Linked DNA regions of Homo sapiens: all the other regions are linked to region 3. The links are contacts of gene promoters, found by promoter capture Hi-C in blood cells and fetal thymus (Javierre and others, 2016). All regions are on one chromosome and are shown on one strand. Each heading gives the region's core, a stretch centred on a gene start or on the middle of the fragment in contact. The rest is flanking DNA. Distances are from core to core; before and after follow the strand shown.

The links. Contacts are between HindIII fragments. The CHiCAGO score rates a contact against its expected background, and 5 or more counts as called.
Region 1: a fragment that was not itself captured here is called in contact with the fragment with the promoter of WSCD2 in region 3 in 1 of 17 cell types (M0 macrophages); the score reaches 6.9 in M0 macrophages.
Region 2: a contact is called between a fragment that was not itself captured here and the fragment with the promoter of WSCD2 in region 3, in 1 of 17 cell types (monocytes). The highest score is 5.2, in monocytes.
Region 4: a contact is called between a fragment that was not itself captured here and the fragment with the promoter of WSCD2 in region 3, in 2 of 17 cell types (M1 macrophages and M0 macrophages). The highest score is 6.6, in M1 macrophages.
Region 5: a fragment that was not itself captured here is called in contact with the fragment with the promoter of WSCD2 in region 3 in 3 of 17 cell types (endothelial precursors, M0 macrophages and M2 macrophages); the score reaches 7.1 in endothelial precursors.

What each region holds. Positions count from the first base shown.
Region 1 is chr12:108,499,678-108,502,424 of GRCh38, reverse strand. No RefSeq gene overlaps it. Among named protein-coding and RNA genes, the nearest start is that of FICD, 14 kb to the left of the region's middle. The HindIII fragment of the contact is 2,219 bases long and covers 310-2,528 here.
Region 2 is chr12:108,428,200-108,430,943 of GRCh38, reverse strand. No RefSeq gene overlaps it. Among named protein-coding and RNA genes, the nearest start is that of LINC01498, 44 kb to the left of the region's middle. The HindIII fragment of the contact is 1,271 bases long and covers 657-1,927 here.
Region 3 is chr12:108,127,838-108,130,537 of GRCh38, reverse strand. WSCD2 (WSC domain containing 2) reads right to left here and starts at 1,250. Exons shown (of 9, transcript NM_014653.4): 1 at 612-1,250. RefSeq lists a silencer at 940-1,029. The HindIII fragment of the contact is 4,828 bases long and covers 1-1,571 here.
Region 4 is chr12:108,476,303-108,479,002 of GRCh38, reverse strand. No RefSeq gene overlaps it. Among named protein-coding and RNA genes, the nearest start is that of LINC01498, 4.0 kb to the right of the region's middle. The HindIII fragment of the contact is 7,107 bases long and covers 1-2,700 here.
Region 5 is chr12:108,459,306-108,462,005 of GRCh38, reverse strand. LINC01498 (long intergenic non-protein coding RNA 1498) reads left to right here. Exons shown (of 4, transcript NR_120483.1): 3 at 312-376; 4 at 2,422-2,581. Among named protein-coding and RNA genes, the nearest start is that of LINC01498, 13 kb to the left of the region's middle. The HindIII fragment of the contact is 1,901 bases long and covers 471-2,371 here.

The sequences.
Region 1 (2,747 bases), core at 170-2,669, 370 kb before region 3:
TTACATTATGAATATTTTATCTTATCTTTTAACTTACACATACTAGTATTCTGTATACTAATTTGTACTGTGAATACTAATATTAATATTGGGTTAATGGTTGATTAACAAATGAGTTAATTGGGTGAAGTCTCACATTGTCTTCCCTGCATGAATCAGGTGATTTCCTTTTTTGGTTCATTTTGAATTTAATGAGAATTTAAAGACACTGGCTAAGCAGCATACAGAACCCTTCCAGATTTTTATAATTTTCCTCCCCCTCCATCTTTATCTTACAACTAATTCTTCATCAATTTCTATTTAGAAGCTTGCTTTTCTCAGGGCTATTCGAAACACTTAACTTAGTTTTCACAGAAACAACTTTTCTTTTTCCCTTCTTTTTTTTAGACAGGGTCTCACTCTGTTGCTCAGGCTGGAGTGCAGTGGTGCAATCACAGCTCACTGTAGCCTTGACCTCTAGAGCTCCAGCCATCCTCCTGATAACCTGGGACCACAGGCATGAACCACCATGCTGGCTAATTTTTGCATTTTTTGTAGAGATAGTGTTTCACCATGTTGCCCAGGCTGGTCTCAAACTCCTGAGCTCAAGCGATCCTCCCACCTTGGCCTCTCACAGTGCTGGGATTACAGGCATGAGCCACTGTGCCTGGCCTTTCCCTCCTATTTAATCCTACTACATACTACTTAACTAGTTACAAATGAAACTGGCATAAATAGGTTTGGCAGCAAACAACTGATTTTGCTACACATACAGCTCAACACGTGGCAGCTGGTGGCTTACTGGTCTCTGATGTTGGGTGTGCAGTGACTCAAGCTAAATATGAGAAAACATCAGACAAATTCAAGTTGAATGAAATTCTAGAAAATAAAGGCCAGTACTTTTCAAAAGTTATCGAGATCATAAAAGACAAAACTATTACATATTGGACGACACTGAGGAAATATGACAATGAAGTATTTGGCTGATTCTGAATTGTATTCTTTTACTAGAGAGAACTTTATTAAAACAATTGGTGAAACTTAAATGGGGTCTGGGGAGAACATGGTAGTAGATCAGTGTTCGTTGCTTGATTTTGATGGTTGTATTATGGTCCTGTAGGAGAGTTACATGCAATGTGGAATCCTGGATTGGATCCTGGACCAGCAAATGGTCAAAAAAATTTAGTTTTTTTTATTAAGTGTTCATTAATGGAAAAAACTGATGAAATTTGAATGTCCACAGATTCACCAATGTTCATTTCTTGGTTTAGATAGTTGTTGTGTTGTTATGCAAGATATCAACATTAGGGAACGTTGGGTAAAGGACACAGAAAAACTCCAGGTATTCAATTTTTGAGTCTAAATTTTTCAAAAGAAAAAGTTCTTGCTCTTTTTTTTTGAGGCAGAGTCCCACTCTGTTGCCCAGGCTGGATCACCCAGTGGTGCGATCACAGCTCACTGCAATCTCTGCCTCCCAGGTTCCAGTGATTCTCATGCCTCAGCCTCCTGAGTAGCTAGGACTATAGGTGTGTACCACCACGCCTGGCTAAATTTAATTAATTTAAATGAAGGCCAGGGGTTCGAGCTCCCAGGTGAGGCCAATGAAGTTGCTGGTCCACAGACCACGCTTTGGGAAGCCCCCACATCTTGGTTGATTTTAATTATTTATTGATTGATTTTCTGGGCATGTGAAATATTTCCATAACTCTAGGAGTCAGAGGTATACAAAAAGGTGTTCCAAATGAGTGTCTCTCCCTCTACCTCTCTTCTACCCCAAGGAATCTGTGGCCTGGGAACTCTTCAAGAAATGCTGACATGAAGTTTGAGAAGTGCTGGTTCAGAGAGGCTTGAAAAAGCACCTGGGCTTTATTTGGAAGCGGAGCAGCAGCTGATGCCTCCCTAAATGTTCTGCAGATCCCAGAGCAAAGACCTCTGAGTCTACCGCCCCACCCTGCCCAGCCACGGCTCACTCCTGCGGTGGGCTCTGCCAGAGGAGGAAGAGTGGGACCCTCAAGCTCTCTCTGGGTCCTCAGCTCCAGGTCAGATAACCATTTTTGGGAGAGGGTTGAGATGCTGCAAGGGGTGGCTTTGGAGGGAGCTCTGACACTTGGGAATTCTGATCATTTCTGGCACATCTGGGTCTAGGATTAAATAAAATATGGGTTACTTCCCAGGTGAGAGGTTCAGAAAATGGGAGGCATCTCTTTGGCCTGCAGCATGAGGATAGTTCAGTTGTCTTCCCTGTGACTGGAAGAAAAGGTGGCACTCTCTTTCCCAGTGTTGTCCTTGGGGCTGTGTCCCCCTAAAATACAAGTAATAGCCCACTTGGCAGCCCAGGCTCCCCATCTTGGTTATTTGGCCTGATAACCCCTGAAAACCCCCTGCTCGTCCCTCCTCGTCCCCTCCAGTTTTGGCTTCTCACCTGGGTGCCCAGAAAACTTTGCCAAACCTTAACCAACTTCATGCTACAGCTGTGCCTTGGTGTTCCCTCTAGAGAGAGCGTTTTGTGATAGTACCAAGCACTGCAACAGAATACGCTCACTTAAGCTTCCACTGAGAGCCCGTCCTGGGCCCTGGGAAACCGCAGTAAACAAAACAGACTCAATTCCTGCCCTCACACAGCTTACTTTCTGGTGGAGGAGAGAGACACTAAACGAAATAGGTAAATGATATGGTATATTCGAGGCTGACAAGCCCTGTGGAAAAAATTAAGTGGGGAAGAGGGTGAGGAGTGGTTTGTGATAGAGGTGGTGAGTTATGTGGATGTC
Region 2 (2,744 bases), core at 43-2,542, 300 kb before region 3:
ATCATTTCATATCAGACTGTGGTGGAGGCCACACTTGACTAGATCCCGGTTCCAAATTTCATGCTCCATGTGAGTGATTCGCTGGAGTGGGTGTGCCAGGTGGATTAGATGTATGCCAGTACAGTTAGTGATGGTGATGCAGGTAAGAATAGTTGTATTTTTTAACTTTTAACTTTTTGTTTATTATTAGAGACAGTCCTGCTTTGTTGCTCAGGCTGGAGTGCAATGGTGCAGTCATGGCTCACTGTAGCCTCAGCCTCCGGGGCTCAAGAGATCCTCCCACCTCAGCCTCCTGAGTAGTTGGGACTACATATGTACATCACCACACCCGGCTAATTTTTAATTTTTTTTTTGTAGAGACAGAGTTTCCCTATGTTGGCCAGGCTGGTCTTGAACTCCTGGGCTCAAGCGATACTCCTGTCTCAGCTGAGATTACAGGCGTGAGCCATTTCATCTCACTAAGAACAGCTGTATTGATGGAGCACTTCCTACGTGCTGGGCACTGTGCCAAACATATTGCATGCCTTCTCGTAGTACGCTCAAAGTCACCCTATGAATAAGGGCTATTATTTATATCCATTTCATGGATGAATAACCTGAGACTTATAAAGGTTAAAGAACTTGCCCAAGGTCATCCATCTGGTGGTGTTCAAGCTTGAATTCCCTCCTGTGTTTGTCTGACACCAGTCTGAGCATCTGGTCCACACTACATTGCCCAGGGCAGGTGAATGACTTGCCCAAGGTCACACGGCAAGCAGTGGTGCAGGTGAGGCTGGCCCAGGATGCCAGCTACCTTCCTTCCTTCAGTTCTGCCTTCTCTGACCTTCAGCCCTCCCTCCAGGGCGAAGCCTCTCAAGCCTGAAACCCACCTCACTGTGCCTGGGACCCCTTCAAAGCCCCAAGGAAGGACAGTTGCAGGAATCCAGGTGGGAGTTTCAACTGTTCCCTTCAGATCCCCACTGTGATCGAGTGAATTTCCAGACTGGATCCAATTTCCAAACAGAGCTGACATGTATCGGGCATTCGGCAGCAACAAGCCAAGCCTGGCTGCGTGCGGTGGGGATGGAGGAGGCTAATAATTTGCCGCTGGCGTCCCATTACCAGCAAGTTGTCAGAACACACTAGCTTGGGAGGACAGTGTCAATGATGGCGCCACGTCTGAGACAGAGAACCTGAGAGGAGCAAGGTGGGGGCATTCTTCTGGAGCTTCTGCGGTTGCTCCAAGCAGGGGCTGGCATACTTTCCATCTCAGACACCACAGGCAGCAAAAGGAAAAAAAAAATCACAATGCCTTTTGGTGTATCTGTGGGCTTATGGCCTGTGGAGTCCTGGAACAGAATCATCGCATGTGCATGGGAGGCAGGACGAAGTCGTGATTAGGAGCAGGGCTTTGGAGGCGGAACTGGGTTGACCTAGCTGTGTGACCTCGAGTCTTATTTATTTATAAAATAATTGCTTTGTTTCTTTATAAAATAAGAATAATGTGACCAGGTGCAGTGTCTCACTCCTTTTATTCCAGCACTTTGGGAGACCAATGCAGGTGACAACCTGGGTAACCTAGTGAGATCCTGTGTCTACAGAAATTTTTAAAAATTAGCCAGGTGTGGTGGTGTGCATCGGTGGTCGCAGCTACTCGGGAGGTTGAGGTGGGAGGATCACTTGGGCCTGGGAGTTTGAGGCTGCAGTGAGCCATGATCATGCCACTGCACTCCAGCCTGGGCAACAGAGCAAGACCCTGTCTCAAAATTAAAAATACAAGGAAAGAATATGCTACCTTTCCTGTAGACTTGTCAGGTAATTTAAATGAGCAAGTACTGAGAAATGTCTTAACAAGGCACCTGGCACCTAGCAAATACTCAGTTTCCTCAAAGGGGCTAATAAAACTTACCTCAAACGATTGTTGTAAATTTTAAATGAAGTCTAAGCTTATTTGACTGTGTGTTTGTGTGCATATATACCTACATGTGTTTGTATACACACATACACATACATCAACATATACATAGATACATGTGTCTTGGTACGTGTGCATAGCACATAGTAGTTTCTGTCTAATGTTGGCTATGATTATTATGCCAAGTTGAAATCCATGTCCCTGTACTTCTCATCCACTGATTTTACCTTGAGAACCCAAACAGAACATTCATCCATTCTGCAGCCAACATCTAACAATAGTTTCTGAGTGTCTACTGTGTGCTAGACATAGTCGATGCATAGTAGGTGCTGGGTTCTTGGTGGCCCCAAAGGTGTGCCGCTCAGATCCCCCTCAAAGGCAGCCAACTGACTGCCTTTTGCTGCTGCATCGGTGGCTCCAGGTCTGGCTGTGCTTCTCCCAAATGTTCAGGTCTAGCTGTGCTTCTCCCAAATGCTCTCGGCCAAAGACTCAGCACTTCGGGGTAATAGAGGTCGGCCAGTCCTGCCCAACATGGGACCCCTCTATATTAGTTTTCTGTGGCTGCTATAACAAGTTGCCACAAACTGGTGGTTTAACATACACACACAAATGTATTCCCTACCAATTTTGGAAGGCAGAAGTTCAAAATCAAGGTGTTGGCTGCACTCCGAGGCTCTGGGGGAGAAGCCTTCCTTGCTTCTTTCCACCTCTGATGGCTGTCAGCCTTGTGGCTGCGTAACTCCAGTCTGTGCCTCTGTTTTCACATTGCCTTCTCCTCTTCTCTTGGTGTCTTCTCTTCTGTCTGTCTTGAACCCCTCTCTACCTTTCTCTTATAAGAACACTTGGAATG
Region 3 (2,700 bases), core at 1-2,500:
TTCCCTCTCTCTCTTTACACACACACACACACACACACACACACACACACACACACACACACCCCAGAATGGACATAAGCAAATCTGCAAGGCACCCTACACAAAGCCCATTGCCTGGGCAGCTCTGGCTGTTGGCATCAGATGACAGGCAGCCTTATTCACCAGAGTATCACCCCCAAGAAACATCTTCTACAGCCAACTTGGAAATATGACTAGCTCCCTCTCCCTTGGAACTCTGCACTGGCCAGAAAGAGGGTGATTCATAAATCAAATTTACGGGGCCCACTGCCTCCCCGCTGGCCCACCTCCGCGGGAGAAGCCCTTGAATGCATGCCTGTAGGGGGCACAGGAATGCCCAGAGGAAGGATGCCTGGATGAGCCGGAATGTCCCACCCTCTGCCAGAGGAGAGAAAGTTTGTCATCTACGCAGAGCTGGGCTGTCACCACTCTGGGTTCCTCACTCGCCGGGCTCTGGACGACGAGCCCCCAACCTGCGGGGAAGCGTCTGGAAAGCGAAGCCCAGATCTAGGGGCAGAAGACATTTCGCACCAGCTCCGCGCCCGGCTCCCTCCTGGAGCCCTCTTCCCAGGTCCAGGCACCTGAGTCCTTACCTGAAGGGTCTCCGCCACTTGCAAACTCTGCCAGCTGAGCTCAGCAGGCGCCCGGGGTCCCTCTCTGCGACTCCCGCGTCCCGCTTGGCGCGCCCGCTCTGTGGGCGCCTTCCCAGCTGCTGCAGTGGCTTTAAGGAAAGGGGAGCCTGGATTTCCTTTCTCGCCACCAAGGCTCCTCCTGCCGGGCCCTGGGGCTATTTCTCCAGGTCTGGCTCAAGGGGCATCCTCTGCGCCTCCAGCGGGAAAGTGGGATAGTGTGCGCCTTGAATTGCAGCAGCGGCGACAGCGGTGGCCGGGGACGAGGAGGCGGTGGCGACGCCAGCCGGCGAGCCAGGGAGGCGGGCGGAAGCGAGAGGAAGTGAAAGCCGGGCTCCTGTGAGCCTGGCGCTCGGGCGGGCGGCACTGCGGGTGCCCCGAGCCGCGGCGAGGCCCCGCGCGGGCACCCGCCCCGGGGATGGAGATGCCCGGGCCCGGTGCGCGCAGGGCACCGGCTGCGGCTCGGCGCGGAGCTCCGGCCGCCTGGCTCTCTCTCGCTGCCTCGCCGCTGCCTCCTTGGCTGCCTTGCTCGCTCCCCTGGACTTCACGTCTCCAGCCCTAGCTCCCGCGCCGCTGCCGCCGCCGCCACCAGCAGCGCGCCTCAGCCCGGCGCGCTCCTCGCACGGAGCCACAGCACTGCCTACCGCTTAACTCCTTGCATGCCACCTGGCCCTCCCGCAGCCTCCCGGGGAGCCGGGCATAGCCGGTGCCAGGCCGGCTGAGCATATCGGGCAGGGGCCTCAGCCTTCCGGCCTCAGTGTCCTCTTCTGTAAAATGGGTTCGAGACCCAAGCCCAAACCATAGGGTCGCTGGAAAAATTCACTGAGCGGATTACGCAAAGTGCCAAGCTGCCTGACATGGGGAGTATGCACCCCAAATGGCAGAGTGCTTGCTGCTGCTGCTACTGTTGTCGACCAAGAAGCTTAGCACGGTGCCTCACAAATAGTAAACACCCAATAAAGCGCAGTTTCGGTTTTTGGTATTTAGTTTGTAGTTTTAACAGGTGGTAAGTTTTAGCTGTGTAACCTCTGGGTGATCACTCGCCCTCTCTGAGCCTGTTGCTTTCCAATCTCTGTGACCTTGGGCAAGTCACAGCACCTCTCTGAACCTTTGTGTCCCCATCTGTAAAATGGGGACAGTAATGCCCGTAGTCAAAGAATTCCCAGAGAAGCTCTGGCAGAAGAGCCCTTCTCATGACGGGGCAGGGCATCTAACGGGAGCTGGACATCTTTTCTTTCTTGATCTGGCTGGTGGCTGCACAGGTGTTTGTGACAAGTCGTTGTACTGTACATTTACATATCAAGTGCTTTTCTGTACATGGGTTAAATCTTAACTGTTTTTTGTTTTTTTGTGTTTCTTTTTTTTTTTTTTTTTTGAGAGACCATTCTTGAGCAAAACAGAACTGGGTTCAAGCATGGGCTCTAGTACTTTCTGGTTGTGTCACCGTGACCAAGTTATTTCATCTTAAGGAGCCTCAGTTTCCTCATCCATAAAATGGGAACAATGATAATACCTACTGGATAGGTGATATAAGGATTAAAGGGTTTCAAGCAAAATGGCAGATATAAAGCTTGAGGCCTGAACTCAACCAGTATCTGCTGGTACTGATCACATATTCTACAGTATTATATATGTCCCATAGTAAGGGGTGTCTGGGAAATAACAAAGAGAACTGAATTTGAATCTCCTCAACAGTTGCCAGGTAAAATACAGGATGCCCAGTTAAATTTTTAGTATAAGTCTGAAATTTTACATGGGATATACTTTCACTATTTTTTTTACATTGTTTACTCAGAACCCAAATATAATTGGATGTCCTTTATTTTATTTTGCTGCATCTTGCAATCCTAACTCCATAATTACCAGCTGTATGTCCTAAAGTAAATGACTTAGCCTCTCTGGCCTTGGTTGCCCAATCGGTAAAATAGGACTAAAGATTTCTTCTAATGTTGACAAGAGAATGAAACTGATTAAAGTGGGTGGGTGTTCCCAGCAGCACATGTTAAGCCCTCCACATTTGTTCCGTACACTTCCTGTCAATCATCTCCCTCCC
Region 4 (2,700 bases), core at 164-2,663, 350 kb before region 3:
TTACAGTGCTCACGTAACCTCAAGTGGGGGCTGGATGTCGCTTCTTCCTTGGGCCCAGGAACTATTTCTGGGAAACAGGAAGCCACATGGTGTTTTATCAAACGTTTATGGCTACTGGTTTAGGGGGTGAGTTTACAAGGCTCTGCAGGCTGTGCACTGGGAAATTAAATTGCTTGCATTTTTACTTAGTTCTAATCATGCCACCAGCCATGGGATTTACGAGGCCGTAAAGTCTTGAGCACATTGCTCACTGAAGGCCTTGCTCATGGCTGCCTGCATGGTGTCCTTGACAAGAAGCATTCTCCAGGAGCTCCGGGCTCAGCTGTCCGTTTGTTCCACAAACACATTCTAGGCACCTACTGTGTGCTGGGGGTAGAGTGGTGAGCAGTGCAGATGTGGAATTTGTCCTCTTGTTATCTGCAGCTTCCTAAGGATACAGGCATTGCCAAATAGTTTCACAAATAAATATAAAATTGCCAGCTGGGGTTAGAGGAGTGATGGAAAGGTTTAAGATGCTATGAGAAGCCACAGAGGTTGAATGGTGTTTCCCTCTGAGAAAAAAGGTATGTCCATGTCCTAACCCCCAGGACTTGTAAAAACAACCTTATAGAAAAGGCCTTTCTAGGTGTAATTAAATTAAGCATCTTGAAATGAGATCACCCTGGATTACTGAGGTGGGCCCTAAAAAATAAGTGTCCTTATAAGAGATAGAAGGCCATGTGAATATGGAGACAGAGATTAGAGTGATGCAGTCACAAGCCACAGGACTCAGAGCCACCAGAACCTGAAAGAGGCACAGAGATTCTTGCCTAGAGCCTCCCCCGCGATCCTAGCCCTGCTCCAGAGACACTTCTGGTCTAGCTGGGGAGGTGAGACTGAAGTGACTTCCTTGTCTGGGGTAAATACTTGGGATATTCGTTGTCTTGTGCCAAGAACATTTAGGACACGGACACACATGAGGAGTTTAAGAGCAGAGGTTTAGTAGGCAAAAGAAAGAGAAAGCAGAACAGCTCTCTAGTGAGAGGGAGAGGCTTCCAAAAGGAAAGACCCGCCTGTAGTGGAGTTTGCCAGATTTTATAGGCAGGCTTGTGGAGGTGGTGTCTGATTTAGGTAGGGACCGCAGATTGGCTGGATCAGGTGTGACGTTTACATAGCATTTGGGGAAGGCTGCCCAACCCACTCTAATCTTACTATGCAAATGGCCCCTCCCCTTGGCTGGCGCCATCTTGTCTGCTCCTTACTGTACACGTGTCTGACAAAGAGAAGGGGAGATGGAGCCACCATCTTGAACATGATTGGCACAACGGCCGGCATCTATGTCTGCCGCTCGATTTTACAGGCTGCTCTTTGTTAGAAAAGAAAATGATTTGGGGCTGATTTTCATTAAAAGGAAAACCTTACCGAGGACTTCTGTACCCTATCTGCCTAAGTAATTTCTTTTTAACTCCTATATCAAGCCTAATCTAGAGACTTATCTAGAGTTTATAGTTGAGCCTTAAGTAGTGTACAGAGATTCACAGGTGACAAAGATGATTGCAGGCTGAGAAAATCAAGTCAATGAGGGCTTCCCAGGGGAGGTGGCCCTGAAGCAAGGGTGTTGATTGGCTTGTAGAGAAACAAGGAAGACGCTGATGTCAGAAGCCAAAATAACCCCCACGTGTGAAAACTCTGCATCATAATGAATGCCTACCGCATGTGAGGCACTTTGCCTTCACTCTCATTCAATCCTCAGACAACTTTATTTGTATCCTCATTTTACAAGTGGGGAAACTGAGGACCATTGAAGTTACACACAGATAGTAATTGGCCCAACTGGGATTGGCAACCACACAGGTACCCCAGGACTCTCAATGTGGCTTCCATCCCTGCTCTCCTCTCCTTGTGACCAGAGCTGAGAGAAGTCCAGGTCTCTGGCTTCTGTTCAGGATGCTTAGAAAAAAAAAATCCACCTTTTAAATCTCTTTCTTTCTGGCTAGGAAAATTGTCCATAAGGAGGTGAAATAGGCCAGGCCAGAAAAAAAAATTATCTTTTTTATGAGGTGACTGCTACTAGTGTGAAATCTTCCTTTCAAGAATAAAATATCAGGCCTGTTGTGGTGGCTCATGCCTGTAATCCCAGCACTTTGGGAGGCCAAGGCAGGAGGATTGCTTGAGGCCAGGAGTTCAAGACCAGACTGGGCAACATGTCAAGATCTATCTCTAAAAAAGATTTAAAAATTAACGGCATGGTGGTGTGTGCCTGTCGTCTCATCTGCTAGGGAGGCCAAGGTGGGAGAATGGCTTGAGTTCAGGAGTTCGAGGCTGCAGTGAGCTGCGATTGCACCACTGCACTCCAGCCTGAGTAACAGAGCCAGACCTTATCACTTAAAAAAAAGAAATCAGGGCAGCCTATCCAACAAATGCTGGCTTTTCATAATTCTAATAACTGTAAAGTAAAATATTAGATTAACCAGTGCTCAGGACTCACTATCTTGCCATTCCTGGTGTGGACTCCCCGTGAAAATGGACAGTGTGCCAAATTGGGGAAGGAGCGTGACCCTTTGTTTTTATTTTCTCTGGATGGAGCTGCCTAAATGCAGTTGACAGAAATGGAAATTTGTTCCCCTGAGAAATTTCACGGCCTCCTGACCTTTGTCACAGCCTGGCCCTGGAGGAGAAGGAGTCAAAGATGGGCCGTGTCAGGCTGCTGCATGCAGGGAC
Region 5 (2,700 bases), core at 172-2,671, 330 kb before region 3:
CACTTGAGCCCAGGAGTTTGAGATCAGCTTGGGCACCATGATGAAACCCCGTTTCTACAAAAAATACAAAAATTAACCAGTTTCATAATCAAGTCTCAAAATAAATAAATAGATGAACATTTTTTTAAAAAAGCATAGAGAAGGGAACTCTACAACAATCTATTAACATTGCTAACTACAAGGGGTTGGAGTTAGAATGGAGTGGGAGAGATTATTGATTTTTTACTTTACTTTGTTGTTTAGCATATTGCAATGCATGCGTTACTTCCATAATTAAGAAAATCTAATACACATTTTTATAAAAATTCAAGGTGTCCTCAGATATGTTCAAGCCCAAAAGAATCTTATACCTGGACCCCCCAGTCCCTAGCCCCTGGTAAGTATTTGCAAAAAATGTTGGATGAATGATGAAATGAGGAAGAATGAAATGTTTAGCTCAATATCTCATTTCTTGGATGGTTTGTAAAGCTTTCAATAAAACAGGAGCCTTGAGGCAGTTGGTCATTAATGAATAACTCATCATCAGAGGTCTGGATTGAATATTAAAGCAGTCCCAGCAGTCAACCGTGCCCCTTGTTAAACATGGTCCCTGCTGCAACTAGTCTAGGTCCAGGCTCATATTCTAGCTGACAGCTTGGAGAGGAGTGATAGTCATATTTCCTCACGTAACCATCCTCATTTTTAGGGTTGACAGTTCTGCTGCTGCAATGACAGGGAGGTGGGTGGGTGAGTCCTTTGGGTGTTGCTGGGATGTTAAGTCCTGGGGTTGTGACTGGGGAGAGTGATGTCACCCTTGATAATTTCTGTAGACTCAGGCAGAGCGGCTCACTAAGATAAAAACCTCTTATAAGTAGGTTTTTCTTTCTTTTTAGTAAACAGGTTGCTCATCACTCTTCGACAGCTCTGACCCCTTGGCTGCAGAGTGGGTGCTGGGTGTTGGGAGAGGGGCATGCATGGAGGTCCTTCTTATCCCATGTCTCATCTGATTTTTCTTCAGTCTCCTCCTCCTCACTTTCAGAGCAGAGAGTCCTTATGCGCCACTGGGACTCCCCATGCCCTTCCCTGTCTGTCCGTGTCTTGCTGAGCCAGGCAGACTCCTCGCTTTCCAAAGTGACAGTTCATTTTCAGATTCCCTGTTCACGTTTCCATTTTGCAAGTGACAGAGACCAGTGTGTTATTCCTCTTAAGTAGTGTAGCAGGAGCCTCTGGGAAGGAAACGTTTAGCCAAATGACTGACTCTAACGGAGAATTTTCAGGTATTTTGGTAGACCAAGGGATAGAATAATTTAGGGATAGAATAATTTAGGAATAGGTTGAAGTTCCTGTTGCTAAATGACATTCCCCACCCTCCACTCCCCCGACTTTTTTTTTTTTGGAGACAGAGTCTCACTCTGTCACCCAGGCTGGAGTGCAGTGGTATGATCAGGGTTTACTGTAGGCTTGACCTCCCGGGCTCAGGTCATCCTCCCACCTCAGCCTCCCAGGTAGCTGGGACCACAGATGTGCACCATCATGCCTGGCTATTTTTTTTTTTTTTTGTATTTTTTTGTAGAGACAGGGTCTCACCATGTTGCCCAGGCTGGTCTTGAACTTCTGGGCTCAAGCGATCTCCCCAGTTTGGCCCCCCAGAGTGCTGGGATTACAGGTGTGAGCCACCATGCCCGACCCATTTTCCCCCTTTTTATAAAAGCGATAAGTGTTCAATTCATACCACTTGCAAAACGCAGAAAGACACAGAAAATTGAACAGCACATTCCTCCATAATCCCTTTAGTCAAGATGACTCATCGCAACAGATACACACACAGTGTAAATATATATTTACAAAAAATATACTTTGTATATTCTTCTGTAGCCAGTTCTTTTCACTTAGCAATATCTTGTGAGTATAGTCCCATAACTATAAATATTCATCTATACTGTGAGTTTTTTTCCAGTTGGAAAAATTTCAAACAACGCAAAACATAAAAAACAATTAAGATCTCTATTATTGCCATCCTCAGGGATAACCATTATCACTTTAAAAATATTCTCTTGCCTTTTTTTCTATGCGTATGCACACTAGAATCTAATCCCTATACAGATGCTCCTCAATTTACAATATGGATGTGACCCCATTGTGAATCAAGGAATGTACTGAATGCCTATTGCTTTCTCACCATCATAAAATGAAAAAATCAAAGCATCATAAGCTGGGGACTGTCTGCAGTGTCCTGGCTTGCTTTACCTACCCTTGTGTCCTCAGCACCTTGAAGAAGGTCTGGCATGTAGCAGATGCTTGGTAAATATTGTTAAATGAATGCAAAATTATAAATGCATATTTAGTAGGGTTCCTGGAGTAGAATCTGCTTCTACGTTTTTCCCCCAAAGCTTGTAAAACCCTCATTTAAAATGTTACATGTATTTTCTGTTTTCTGGGAAGGGGACTGGAGTTTACCTTTGAGCAGGACCATCCCTTGATTCTGGGTGTGAGCACTTGGTGAGAAGAAAATAAGCAAAATAACTATCCACGGTTCTTGGGGATGCCCTGAAAGCTCAAATACTGAAGCTGCAGATGGAGCAGTTAAGTATTCTAAAGGGAACCTAAAGCAAACTGTGTTTGTTGGTAGAACATGCCCCTGCAGGGTTGGAGCAAAATCTGTTTCTAAACTTAGAGTTTGGCTGCCCCAGGCCTGAACGCACTTGTTTGCTCTTGGGAGAC